Regions from separate parts of the Homo sapiens genome. Here region 1 is linked to region 2. The links are contacts of gene promoters, found by promoter capture Hi-C in blood cells and fetal thymus (Javierre and others, 2016). All regions are on one chromosome and are shown on one strand. Each heading gives the region's core, a stretch centred on a gene start or on the middle of the fragment in contact. The rest is flanking DNA. Distances are from core to core; before and after follow the strand shown.

What was found. Contacts are between HindIII fragments. The CHiCAGO score rates a contact against its expected background, and 5 or more counts as called.
Region 1: a contact is called between a fragment that was not itself captured here and the fragment with the promoter of TMEM164 in region 2, in 1 of 17 cell types (neutrophils). The highest score is 6.7, in neutrophils.

Annotation. Positions count from the first base shown.
Region 1 is chrX:109,546,983-109,554,400 of GRCh38, reverse strand. No RefSeq gene overlaps it. Among named protein-coding and RNA genes, the nearest start is that of NXT2, 14 kb to the right of the region's middle. The HindIII fragment of the contact is 7,389 bases long and covers 1-6,617 here.
Region 2 is chrX:110,001,787-110,009,264 of GRCh38, reverse strand. It overlaps TMEM164 (transmembrane protein 164), which reads right to left and starts at 6,151. Exons shown (of 7, transcript NM_032227.4): 1 at 6,087-6,151; 2 at 5,101-5,764. The coding sequence starts at 5,490. RefSeq lists an enhancer at 5,289-5,944 and a silencer at 6,047-6,906. The HindIII fragment of the contact is 10,429 bases long and covers 1-7,478 here.

The sequences.
Region 1 (7,418 bases), core at 1,674-4,173, 450 kb after region 2:
CTTAATGGAAAGCACATCATTCAAGTCAAAGCCTTCCTAAAATAACCAGTATCTCCAATTGTGTCTTGTTGTAAATGAAAACAGATGCTTATTGCACTTATGCAAATAAGTATATTGCCATAAGTTAAGAATACCCACAACTTAGTTTCCAAATTCTGGAGAAATTAGATAGAGCAAAACAAATATCCTCCAAATTTTGTTCACAGGAGTATATTTTACTCAATTGTTGAAAGCTGTTAATAGCTCAAAAGAAAAATTTCCTTGACTGTGAAAAACAAAACAAAGGATCAGCAACGTTTTAAGCAAAAAGTTAAAAAGATTACTTCAGTCTTCTATTAGTTCAGTCCATGCAGTTAAGTCCTGTTTTGCTTGATATCCATTAACATTTCAGCTCTCCATAAGAGTCCTGAAAGTTTTTTCTGCTATTCTAATGTCACAATCTCCAAAGTTATTAGAAACCTTCATTTAAGACCACCTGTTAGAGTTCTATAGTTGATTATAAAACCACCTTCTACAGAGGACCAAAACAAGACAGTAGTCTGTAGATGACAAAAAGTCTTATTAGTTAGGACAGCCACGATTAAAACCACAATTGACAAGGAAATTTTGGTTATTTCTGTGGCATACAACTATTTTACATAACAATGATGATTATTAATAACATACACTAAGTCATATTAGAATTATAGGAGTTTCTCATAATTTTGGAACACATACCAATAACATATTTACACAAATACAGCCCAAAGAAAGCCAAACATCATTTTATATTTGACAATGCTTCCTGCAGGATTTTTATACCAAATAAGACAAATTTCACTGTTGCACTAGTGTACTATTAATGTCAACCCCAATTCTTAATAAAACCTTGTAGACAAATTTATTCCATCTTAATCAGTTTGAACATAAGATTCCTACAAACTTTTTTTCCTCACCTCCTCAGCAAAGTGGATCATAAACCTTTTATAACCCTTTACAATTTTTGTGAAAGAGCAGTTCAGTGCTCTAAGAAAAACCTGTTGTGCTCTTATTCCAATGTTCAATTTACGGAAAAATTGAATACCTTTTTAAATTTTAGGAAATATGTTCACACACAGAATTTTTTTTACAATTAATTTTTTGCAAATCTTCCACAACTTGCTCAAACTTGCAGTTTTATCCCAACTTAAAACAATCCTTTAGCCCTCTAAACTTAGGCAAGAAATCCACATTCCTATGACTTCTTATAATCTTTTACCAAAAACACATTTCACTTTCCTTACACACCTTGCATGTAAAACTGTTTTTATTGCCCAAAGATTACTTAGGTCACATGAACTAAAAGGCATTACAGTTTTTACTTTTCTGATAAAATAAGAACTTATTATTTTTAAGCCAATTAATTAAAGCTCTTTCATATATAAATATCACAGACATAACACATATAAATACACAGACAGAAGAAGATCCAGTACTTGTAAGATTTTTCTTTTGCCAGTTTCTTAAATGGATTACTGGCTTAGGATGGAGCCCTTGGAGGAACAGGGCCAGGAAACAGGAAAGCATGCAGTTTTTAGGGCATAATAAGCAGGCACAGCTGGAAGGCAAAACAGATCCCCTCAAATTAAGGGTCCCATTTTTATACCAGATCCTGGATCCCCAAAAAGGGGGAATCAGCCCATCTCCCAAAACTATACTTCCTACCTAGTTATTACACACTAAAAGTCTCTCATAATGCAAAGTAATTTCTGATACCCCCAAAAGTTAAAAATGTCAGATAATGCAATGCAAAACAGAACAAAGCCTTAGATTTTGAGAGGGATCTATCCACTTTTAATTCCTGGGGTTTCATGAGGAAGACAGAGGTTTTTCCCCAAGCAGGGTCTGTGGTGCCTCCTCTGCTTTTCCTGAGTCCCCACCTATTAGAGCTAGAATATCTGCTTTTAATTAAGCTGACTTTTAACCACAGCACTCTAAAAAAAAGAGTCCTTTTAAAATTTAAAATTTTAAAATTAAAATGTATTACCCAACTTTTAGCCAAGCCAATCGGCCGATATTTTTGGCTTTTGAACTTTACCAAAAGTAACCTAATAGTTGCACTGAGAAAGTAAAACTCAAGACAGTTAGTGGAGGGAAAGAGAACCAACAAATGGCAAAGGTCACACAGATATTAAACCAGAAAGTACTCATTCCCTAAGCTGGGAATTGAACCCAGGCTGCTATTGTGATGGCAGAGACCAAGAGAAAGTACTGCCATGTGGTTACAAGGTTAATCTGCCAAGGACATTTTTCAACATGTGGTCTCTGGGCAAGATGGTCGCCCTGAGTAATAGAAAAGACAGGAAAGAGAAAGAGAGAGAGAGAAGCATTGCTTGCGGCAGGGTGGGGAAGGCGAGCATCTCACAGAGGCCCAAGAAAGATCCACCCATCCCAGCGTGATTGAAAAGTTCAGGCAGCTGCTTGTCGGTTGCAAAGGGATCTTTTCCAGCAGTCCCATTAGCTCTCAAGTTTCCCCTTTTAGGGAGAAAAAAGCTCCCCATGTCCCATGGTCCCATACATGCCTCATCCTGTCACCCACAGCCATCAGCAGACTGCAAGGTAGATTAATTCAAAGAGAATAGCCGTTAACATCCCATAGTGCCAAACCTGTTCGTAGCTGAGAGTACCTTTACTGAGAGGGTCCTCTAACCTCCTAAATCTTAGGAAGGACTCTAACCTTCCTCAATTGGGCCTCCAACCCAAGTTTGGTCAAGCGTTGTTGCCTTTTATTGAGAGGGCCCTTTAACCCTCTCTGTCTTAGGAGAGACTCTAACTCCCCTAAGTTGGGCCTCTAACCCAATCCCATCCTTTACCCAGGTATATGCACCTCACTTACCCAAAGTCGGCCAATTGGTGTGCACAGATGATTTTCCTTTTGGTCACGAGTTTCTTCAGTATCATCCCTTGGGGTTCACCAGAAAAATGTTACCAGAAAGGGCTCCCGATCCAGACCCCAAGAGAGGGTTCTTGCATCTTGAGCAAGAAAGATTTTGAGGGGAGTCCACAGAGTAAAGTGAAAGCATGTTTATTAAGAAAGTAAAGAAATAAAAAGAATGGCTACTGCATAGGCAGAGCAGCCCCAAGGGCTGCTGGTTGCCTATTTTTATGTTTAAAAAAATTATATGCTAAACAAGGAGTGGATTATTCATGCTTTCCCTTTTTAGACTATATAGGGTAACTTCCTGACGTTGCCATGGCATTTGCAAACTGTCATGGTGCTAGTGGGAGTGTAGCAATGAGGATGACCAGAGGTTACTCCTCTTGTCACCATATTGGTTTTGGTGGGTTTTGGCCGCCTTTGTTAGTGCTACCTGTTTTATCAGCAAGGTCTTTATGACCTACATCTTGTGCTGACATCCTATCTCATCCTGTGACTTAGAATGCTTTAATCTCCTGGGAATGCAGCCCAGCAGGTTTCAGCCTCATTTTACCCAGCCACTGCTCAAGATGGAGTTGCTATGGTTCAAACGCTTCTGACACCAAGACTAATGAAATATTCCTTTCAGTTATGGTATTGTTCCAGATACTGCCAGCCAAAATGCAACAACCCCAAGATAAAAGCCTATTGCCTCCAAAGTAATGAGTTAACAGATTTAGCTCGAAAGGAGAGGGTGAGGCCTGAGGGATTTGAAAAGAGGGCAGGCTAGGTCTAGAGTCTACCACAGTGTGGGCCTTAGGAAGCATAGCAATATAGGGCCTGAGAAGGATGGGAGAAAGGGGCATGGAGGTAGGAAGTCTCCTAGTTCCTAGTTTTGCCACTGGCCTTCCAGGGATTTGTGAGTGTATACATATTTTTAGCTGCAGTTCTCATTTTCCTCCCAGTTATTATAAATTACCTGTCTGGGGAGGCTGTTTTTCCTAGTTTCTCTCTCCCGTCTTCCTCTCCTTTTATTTTCAGTTGTTTGGAAAGCAGTATCTTCCCAACTGTCCCTACCTACCATTCTCCCTCACCTTCCCCCAGCTAATTACTCCTTCCATCCCTTCTCCCAGGCTTGTCTTTTCTCCTCAGCAACATCCAAAGCCAGTGAATTATTAGGTCTGAGATTGAGCCCAGACCATTGGGAATCCTGGATGCCACAGATGGACGGATTAGTACCTTAGAAAAATCATTTCCAGAGGCTCTTTCAGAAACAACAAAAAAGAGTCAGGAAAACGGCCGGGCCCGGTGGCTCACACCTGTAATCCCAGCACTTTGGGAGGCCGAGGCGGGCAGATCACGAGGTCAGTAGATCAAGACCATCCTGGCTAACACGGTGAAACGCTGTCTCTACTAAAAATACAAAAAATTAGCCGGGCGCAGTGGCGGGCGCCTGTAGACCCAGCTACTCGGGAGGCTGAGGCAGGAGAATGGTGCGAACCTGGGAGGTGGACCTTGCAGTGAGCTGAGATCAGGCCACTGCACTCCAGCCTGGGTGACAGAGCGAGACCCCTCTCAAAAAAAAAAAAGAGTCAGGAAAACAAAGTGCTTATTGGCTACCTCAGGCAGCTCAGGTTTCCAAGTCAGACCGTGGTACCTGGGCTTGGTTAAGTGTTGCAGGCATCTACTGCCAATTTCTTGCCGTTGAGCAAGAGAATTGGAATGAATAATGTTACAGTCAATTTTGTTTTTCTAGTTACAGAAAGACTACTTGAAAATACATTTGCAAAATTACTATCGTTTCCTTTAGGGCCCTGAATCCTTTTTTTTTTTTTTAACAGTAAAATAACCATCTCTATAAATCTAATCTTAGACTTTTTTTGCGGAGCTGGTTTAACAACTACCTGGTAAAGTCAGGGGCAAGGTTTAGAATGAGTGTCTGGCTGCGGGAAACAGTCACTCTCAATTGATTTTACCCTTAAAGAAAACCAGAATTTTTGGAAGGGAGGAAACCAATCATCAAGCCAAAAACTATAACCATTGTATTTGTGTAGCACGTGGCACTTAAATATTTTCGTTTGTTGCCTTATTTGATTCTCACAACCACTTGGTGGGCCAGATAGGACAAATAGTATTTCCATTCAATAGCTGAAGAGAGAGGCCCAGAGTAAGTGAATTGTGCAAAGTCACAAAACACATTAGGGGCAGAACAGCCTTAGAACACAGGTCTTCTTTGGGTCTGGGACCAGGATTACACCTTAGAGACCACCACAGCCTTTGTCAAACAAGGGGAGTTGATATGTAGATGTTTGGGGTGTTCAAGGAGGGAGGAAAAGGAAAAAAACACATGAAATTTAAAATTTATCAAAATACAGCTTACATAATATCAGATCATGTTCAAAAGTGGTCCTGCTAGAAAGCCTTCTCACTTCTTTCCTTGGACACCTGAAATAGCACAGTTCCTTCCATTTCAACTCCTTTTCATTGCCGCTCATTCTATTCCCAGACTCTGCCTAAAGACTATGTAAACATTTGCTTTCTTAGCTCTGAACTTCTCGTGCAAACCAAAGAACGGGAGGCAAACACTGCTGCCCTTCATGGCCCTCAACAAATATGAAAAACCTGAGAAGAGAAAGAAGTTTTTGGTCACTTCTAAGTCAGGGTGACATCATTGATATATGGCACTACCTATTGGAAGCCAGCCCTATACCCCTACTCAAAAGTGATAGTGAAAATATGCTTGATCTATTTTTGTGTTTTTCAAACTGATGGTACAACCCGTTAGGAAGTTGTAAAAAAATCAGTTGAGCAACTTATGACCAGCATTTAAAAAAAATAATAGAATGAAATAGAAAATGCAAGGACCACACTGCAAGTGGTAAACGTGAGTTTTATTTTGGACATTATACACACACACACACACACACACACACACACACATACACCCACATATATAGGTTTACTTGTGCATCTGTATACCGGGTTGTGATGTAAAATATACTTCTCACTGTGGGTCATAGTGAAAATTTTGAAAGCTCTCTCTCTAAAGAATGCATATACCACAATCCCAGATTTATGTTGTGTCCTAAGACCCCTCCATCTGACACATTATTCCAACAATACATTTTTCTACCTTTTACTGCTTCCCTAGAAAGCTAGACTGACCTACATAGCTGACTGAGAGTCACTGAGAACTCTTTTGTAAAGAAAGCTGCATTTGGCAAAAGGTAAGCATTTATTAATAGAATACAGCAGTTTGGAAAAAAGTGTTTCGATGAAATACTTTTATTATACAGAGCCAACTACAAAATCAAAAAGCCAAAAATGCCTTACCATTTTCCCCTAAATATGTGTGGTTATGTTAAAGCACACATAGGACAGGAAGGACAACACAGGCTTATAACAAAAATCAGTAAATGGAATCCCCTTCTACCAAATTTCCTGCCCAATTTCAGGCAAATAGTGAATTCATCAAAATTTCAGAAAAGAATTCACAGTACCTTCTTGGCTTTTGACTTCCTGCTCCTTTTCCAAACACTGTGCTTATCCTTGAACCTTACTGGGGCTATCTTTATAGATACACTATACATTACTAGGTGATTTCCAAAAAGTATGAAAATGTTACCATGACTCAAATTCACTGAGGAATCTGTGGCTCTTACAGCCATATGGGCTACTCAAGAAATACAAATGGCATGGTGACAGAATTTGTTTGAGTCATGAATTATTAGTCTTGTAAGCTTACAGCCTTTTACTTCCACTAACGCCTACAAATTTAGACCTAAGTAGATTCCTAGCCATTTTTATCTAGGCAAAACTCCTAAGATGCCATTGTTTATAAGACTCACCATTACTTTACCACTGAGAAAGGGGAAATGAGACACAACTATAATATGGCATCAATTTAAGATCTGTACCAATTCCAGAGATGTTAAAATGTGAAAAATACATGCATCTTTGAAGAGATAAAATATGATATTTAATTTTAAGAGCTATTACTGTGCTTTAAAATTAGAGATGAGGTCTTGCTGTTGCCCATGCTGGAGTGCAGTTGTGCAGTTATGGCTCATTGCAGCCTTGAGCTCCTGGGCTCAAGCGATGCTCCCAACTTAGCTTCCTGAGTAGCTGGGCATATGCCATTTTGCCCTGCTAACTTACTTTTGTAGAGACAGTGGTCTTGCTATTTTGCCCAGGCTGGTCTCGAATTCCTGGGCTCAAGTGATCTGCCCACTTCAGCCTCAGAAAGTGTTAAGATTACAGGCGTAAGCCACCATGCCTGGCTGGCTGTTGCTTCTTCTCATTCCCCTCCAAAAAAGTCTGCTGACATATATATTTTTTTAATTTTCTTTTTTTATTATACTTTAAGTTTTAGGGTACATGTGCAGAACATGCAGGTTTGTTACATATGTATACATGTGCCATGTTGGTGTGCTGCACCCATCAACTCATCCTTTACATTAGGTATTTCTCCTAATGCCATCCCTCCCCACTCCCCCCACCCCACAACAGGCCCCGGTGTGTGATGTTCCCCACCCTGTGTCCA
Region 2 (7,478 bases), core at 4,902-7,401:
AGGAAACTAAAAACAAGTCTCACAAAGACTGAGAAGAAGGTGGCCCATCTGTGGCAAAGGAATAAAAATTCTGTGAGCTTGTGGATCATCCACTGAGTAGGGGCCAGCAACATACTGTTATTTAAAAGCAAGCTGAGTTGTATTAACAGGTGCAAGGCATGAAAAGACTGGGAAAAAAATACTTCCTCTCTGCTTGGTGTAGGCTGGACCTCTGGTAAGAGTTAGTGTCCAGTTTTATATGCCATGCATCAGAAAGGTATCCAGACACAGGCAAGGATCCAGAGAAAAGTAACAAAAATGATTAGAGGAATGCCTTCTAGAAGCTATCAAGAAAGGTATAAGGAGTTGAGCTTTGTCGGTTTCTGAGTCTGAAGTTGAAACTGTATTGGTCATCTGCCATCTTTGACCAGCTTTGCCCAGCTTCTCTGTTTAAGTGACCACATAATTATTCAGAGAATTCAAATGCTTCATTTCCATGTGGCCCGTTTCACAGAGAAGACTGAGATAGGAAAAGGTTAAATAGTTTGCTGAGGTTCCTGTAGCAAGCCATGAGCAAAACTAGCATCATAATTTTAAATCCTGGGGCTGCCTGTGGGTTGTTTAATTCACCAATCCACAGCACCTCTCTTTATATGGACACCCCCAATGACTGTAACAATGAAAGATGGAAAAATTCTCTGCAAATTTCCTTGGGGGGAGAAACAAACTAAAAAGGAATGTCATGCCTCACTAGTGAGGCCCATATAAACATCATCCCCTTGTATCCCCCTGGACTGATGACACAGGACGCAGTCCATCTGATAAGCTGTCAGCAGATGGCTGGATCCCTTATTGTACCCATTACCCACCAACTTCAATTCCAAGCAGGAATGATAATCAGTGCTCCAGACAACAGATGGAGAATGAGGAGGTGTGTCTGGTGTGAAGTCAAGGGGGAAAACAGAAAGCCAAGTTTCTCAAATCCATCAGGTCTTCTCTAAAACAAATTCATCACATAACAACCGGAATGCAACAGTGTGTATTCAGTGAGTTGCAAGGGGTTTCACAAAAAGCTCAGGACTTTCTGAGTGTGTGTCATTCTACACTTTTAGCAAGGAGAGAGGAAGTAAGAAAATCAAACAGTGAACCAAAAGCGGGTAAGCCATATTTGGTTGAAGTTAGATTTCTAATATATTGTAAAGAAGACAAAAAATCAAATAGCTACAGCAACTCTAAAAAAGGATGGGATTCAGTGTTACTCACTAAAAACCAACAGCTTGGGACTAAGGGGTCAACAGCACCAATTATTCTTTGCCAAATATCCAGCCTGGATACAGCCTGCCTTATGCGCATAGACATGGAGGGTTAAACTGCATATGCTTCACCCCACTAAGTTCTGTGCCTAATCAGGAGATGTTGGCACAGACACATACAGAACCAACAGGAATTGGACAATTAAACAAGACATCCCAAATGGGATCTTTTTCTTAAGTTTCTAAGACAAATATAACTGGACTCAAGGAGGGTAAAGGGCCACTAAATTAAGACCACCAGTCTTTACAACAATCAGTCAAACTATCTAGCATTTTAACCCTTCTGCTGAGAAACTGTAGATTTTTAAGACTTAAATAGCTATGAGAATCTCTTCCTGCTAAGCCAGATTCCCACTGTGGCAGCTCAGTTCTAAAGCCACCTGTGCCACTAACTTACTGGGTGATTTTTGGTAAACAGTACAGTCACTCCATAAATTCACTCCCTGTCACCCATACCTGCCAAAATCATAAGCAAAAAGGGACTGGCCATGCTTGAAGAAATACTTATTGGTATAATTGATAGACACCAGTGATATTTAGCAAGGGGTTTAGCAACCATGTGGTAACCTTGGTGCTTGCTGATCTTGAGAACACTCAAATATCTCTGGCTGGAGGCTTAGCTGTGAGACAGTGCTAGGTCAACCATACATGCCTGTATCAGTCTACAGTCCCAGGACACGTTTGAGAAATCAGACAAGGCCAAAATGAAATCTGACAGGACGAATATTAATCAATAACAGAACTTGGACACAAGTACTGCCCTTCCTTATGCTACTACAGTTGGCAGTCACTCAAAGGCAGCATGGCTATGATGAGAGCCTGTGTAACAAGGCCTTGGGAATGAATATGTTGCAGACTGAAAAATGAGAGATGCGGAGACTAACCAATTTCCCTCCAACTTATCTATTTCCTGGCCTAAAGCAATACCTCCCTTGTTACAAACTTACACTGACTCTCTGAGGAAGAAGGCCTTTTTATAAAGCCAAAACTGAGTCATCCTGTTGAGAGACACATATCAGACATGTCTCTGCTAAGCTATCCCTTTCACTTCAGCTAATATCTCTCTTTCCTTGCTAGGACTTCTAAATTCCACAGAATTTGCCACTACAACATAGCCTAATTCAGCTAGTTCACTTGCCAAACATTTCTTTGTACATAGTATCTCCTCTTTGGAATATACACTGTTGCAGGAAACATTTTAACATCCCTTTCTCCAGGCCTAAGCTAAAAGTAACAATGTATATGAAAGTATCTTATAAACAGTAATTGTTAGATAAATGCAAGGTATTATGGTATTCTGGGTATACATACTATCATTGGTCATTGCTGCAACCAAGACAGAAAATTATTTCCAACCATCTGCTGTTAATTTTTTTTTTTTTAGGACTCATCAACTTTTAAAAATCCATACATTCCTGCTTCCCAGGAAAAGCCATATGGAGGGTATAGAAAGTTGGATTAATCAGAGGCTAGGTCTCCTGGTATGCCAGGGGTTACTATTTAAATGATACAAAGCAGTGATTTAGGGGAAAAGGGCAAAGAAGCATAATTCTGATGGAGCTCAAGAACTCCTCGGCATGGCTCTGTTCCATGCCCCCATCCTAAGGCTTCAGAGTCCTAAAGTGCCATCATCCTCTGCATGAGTTCCCAAGCATGGCCCAGTTGAGTTTACTTTACTGGGAAGACACAGGGAGAAAACAATGAATGGGAACTGGCCACCTGACTTCCACAGAGAAGAAACTAGCTTCCTTTTTTTCCACACAGGAGGTCAAAAGCATTTCAGAATAGCTCTCTGTTGCATACCCATCTACGACTTATGGAGACAAGAATCACATAGACTGTCAAGAGCTAGGAGGGCAACTCTGCCTCATTTCACAAGGTAGGCAAACTGAGGCCCAGGAAGAGTACTTTCTCCAAAGTCATACAATGAATTAATGCTAGCACTAGGTCTCCAGAGTCTTCTGAGAGCCTCTAAAAATCTTGCTTCTAAAAACCATGGTGTTGCCAGTCTTGACGTCATCACATCAGCCGCAGCTCCAGTCAGGCTGAATTTAGTCCTTTGTCGACCTTCTAGATATGTGATTGCCAGAGGCCTCAAGACCACTTTGTAGAAGATGCACCCTTTGACCCTCACCACCTGCCATCCTAAAAAAGCACTCCTGTCCCGACAGCCTCACACAGCATCGGCTGAGATGCGTTGTTTCCTATCATTAACAAAAAGCCCATTCATAAAAAAAGAAAGAAAGAAGACTGGCTCAAATTTACACAGAAGGTCTAGCTGGGACAGCCCTGGACTTCCTGTGAATGGCATCACTTCCCAAGAAGCCCTCTCTTAAAAAATGCTGCCCACTCCAGCCCCGATGCTTACAGCCACCCAATCAAAAACAGCCACTTTATTCCAAAGTTATCCATACCTTCTTACCATATCTGCAAGAAGGGAAGGGGCTGGGGTCATTCACCACATCCAGAAGCCTGCAATCAAATGAGTTCCTAGGAACACAGTGCAAGCAAGTATCCAAGCCATGGGTAGACAGTGTGGTGCTCATCTGCCTGAGTCTTCCCACAGGACTGCCCCACCACCCACTGCCACCCTCACTTTGGGGTTGACAGCTTGCAACCTCAAGGTGGATGAGTTTGCTTTCTAACCCAGGCACTAATTCATCTTCTGGCTGCAAGCAAATGACCTGCCATTCCTAAACCCCTCCAGGCCTGTAAAATGGAGATAATAATCTCAACCTCCTGCCCCAAGCTAGGCTGTCACAAGTCTCCAAAGAATAACCTTCTACAAACATAAAGGCAGTAAAGATGCTAATGACAGGTTTCAAAACTGCCCCTGAATAAAACACACCCGGTTTTCCACAGCCTGAAATCTAAAAAAGACTGATTGCTCTCCCAGTCTCCTCTTCCTCCTCCTCCATGATTTTATAGCTTTAGAACATCTCTCCACACAGGCTGAATACAGACAGTCTCACTCTTGGTCCTCACCCAGATTATTTTTATGTATCTGGCAACTTGCCTTTTCAATCCCATTTGTTTTCCTTAGCACCGCTAATGGGTGGAAGTCGATGAGGTAAAGAAATCAGCTTCCTAAGCACCCTTGGACTATGACCATAGGAGACAGAATGACAGTAATAGGATGGAGAGGTTTGCAAAAAAAGAAATACCCTCTCACCATAGTGATCACCAGCCCAAAGTACACATGTCAGCCTGGGGACCTGCTTCAGAACTCATTTAGTAGGAGCTTGGTGCTGCTCCAATGCCTCAAAATGCAAAGGCAGACCTCACTCTAAGAGCATACACTCCCAAATGAAAGAGTCATTAAGAGAAACCTGTAAAAGTATTTCCCCAAAGTACCACAGTGTAGATGAGAAAGTTTATGCGACCACCTCCAGGAAAGAGTGTCACCAGGCCCCTGGGAAATTAACTACCACAGAAGGCAAGGGAGCTGGGTCATGGTCCACTGATGTGATTCAGAAAGGGCACCTGGCTGGGGCTGGAATTCCTGCTTGTGAAAGCCCAGGGCACGGCAGGGTTGGGCTGGGCTGGAAGGGAGGGGCAGCCAGGGTGAGTGCCAGTCGTTCCTAGGGTTCAGGCACAAGGTTCCTCACCTCCACTGTGGGGCTGACGCACTGTGCAAAGGTGAAAGAAAGCCAAACCTGAAATCGGCACAAAGGCAGCCACTCGTTGGAAAATCATTTTTAAAGGTCCCCCTGCCCGCCGGGATGAGGTGCTGTACACTATGGAGTGTCCTGAGCACATAAATGACTCTTATCACTTAGGATGCCCAGGAAAAAGTCAACAGACTCACATGCATCATGGTGACCAGGTGACAGGGGTTGAGCAGGTAGATGACGGTCTTGGTGGCGAACTTAAAGCCCACCTCCACCCCGAAGGTCAGGCACAGGGCTACTAAGAGCAGATTCTTGCTCAGGCTCTCCTTGCCTTCCTCTGGCCGCTGGGTCACCTGCTCTGGCTGGCTGCCAGGGCTACCCCTACCGTCCTCCTTCGTCTGCCTCAGGATGTGCCGCAGGGCCACCAGGATCTCCAACAGAGCCAGGGTCAGGACCACCACACTTTCCAGCAGCCGCTGCTGCCAAGAGAGGAAGGCAGCACAGTCGGGGCCCCCATTGCCTGCAAAACTGGGGTCCACGCCCCCATAGAGCCAGTCCAGGAGACTCTGGTAGCTATACCGGGACATGATGCAGTGGTTCCCCTTGACCACAGTACAGGAAGCAAGAGTGAGATGGAACACAAGCCCAGAGGGTTGCCCGGGTGGTGGACCATGTAAGGCGGGCACACCCCCACAACCCCCCTCCAGACACCAGGGCACCGAGAGTAGGGGAGGGGAAGCTACACGCAAGGCCCGGGGTAAAGTGCTGGCTCTAACTTGTCCCCACGGCTGTCTGGGGGAGCCCCCCGCGCTTCTCCAGTGGCCACCAACGAGGCAGGGTTGAAAGGAGCCGTTGGCCAATCTAAAAGGAAGGAGAGGAAAAAAAAAAAAAAGAGGTCTCAAAGAGGCAATTGCACCGGGAATTAGGAAGCGGGAGGGGTAACTAGCGAGGGAAGAAAACGGGAACGGGGCAGTGGCGAAGCAAGCAGGGGTCAGGGGAAGCCGGAGGCCGAAAGGGTCAGGGCGGGGGCCAAGGAGACCCGGCAGTGCTGCGGCAGCGAACCGGGAGCCAAAAGGGGTCAGAGCTAGGGGACACGCGGAGGCAAGGAGAGGAGCTAGCGGGGCCGAGCAGGCGGGGAGGGCGACGGGGATGGCAGGGACGCCGGACTCCTCGTCTCACGCACTCGCCACAGAGGGATCTCTTACTCCTGCAACCGCGTGGCCGTCTCTGCCCCCAGCTAGCAACTTCGCCGCCGACGGGCCCCTCCAGCCAATTTAGAGCCGTCCTTGTCCAGCCTCCCGCCCCCGGGTACACCCCCGAACCCCCAGCTCCACCCTCCGGCCCTAGACGCCCGCCCTCCGGGCAGCACCACCCCCAGCCCGCGGCCCGCCCGGGACCTGCCCCCCTCGCGCAGGCAGCGGAGGGAGGAAGCCAGAGGGAAGGCGGGAGGCCGGGCCAGCCGGGGGCTGGACTAAAGCCGGCCCCTGGACTAAAGCCGGCCCCCCTCCCTCCTCCCCGGCGCCGCAACCTCCCGCGCCTCCCGCCCAGCCCCGGGGACCGGCCGCCGCGCCCCTCGGGGCTTCACTCACCGGCAGCTCGGCCCGCGGCCCCGGATCGGGCTACTGCTCCGCTCCCGCGCTCTCCGCGCCGGGCGCTCGGTTCCCCTGGCGGCCGCCGCCGCGGCGCACGGCTCCTCCTCCCCGTCTTCCTCCCCCTGCAGCAGCCGCGCTCGCTTCCTCCTTCTTCCCCTCCCTCTCTCCTCCCCCTCCCCGCTGCCACCGCCACTGCCTCCCTCCTCCCGTCCAGTTCAGCTCTCGCCCCACCACACGCCCTCGGGCCACGACTACTCCTCCTCGCCTCCTTCCCTTTTCTGCCTCTGGCACTCCCCTCACCCGTCCACCATTCACACCTCCCACCCTCCGCGGCTTCGGCTCTCCCTCCTCCTCCTCCCTCCTCCTCCCTCCTCCGGCTCAGGCTCCGCCTCCTTCCGCCTCCTCCCTGGCCTGCCTCGTCTTCTGCACTCGGAGCCTGCACGCGTGCACAGCCACCCTCCTTCACAACCGTGTACAGAATTCGCCCCCTCGGTGAAGCCCTGTTGACTGGCTCCGCCTCCCGCGACCTGGTTCTCCAGGGCACTTCTTTCTATACTGCACACATAGTAGGCACTTAGCTGGCCCGCACTAACTTCTTGTGGGGGAATAAGCCTTTCTAGTAATGAGCAGCTTGGCTTCGGGGTGTGTGCTGGGTATGGCCGGCTCCTCTTCGCGATTCCTCCTTTCTGCCACGACTCATGCAAGGCCAGAAAGGCATCTTCTCTCCCCTTTCTAGCCACAGCCCCACTCCACACTTCAGTGCCTAGGACAGGAGCTTCATTTCCCTGCTCCTCCCCCTCCTGCTCTGATCCACTATTTTCTCTCTACCTCTTGCCACACAGACCACCCCTGCCACACCCTCTCCCTCTCCCACTTCTCTCCTTTCTCCTGACAGGCCTTCAATGGTAGGCCAGTGGGAGGAAGGGAGGCTTCCCGTGACCTCTTTCCCTCCCCCTCTTCCCCCCTTCCCCCTCCCCAGAGCA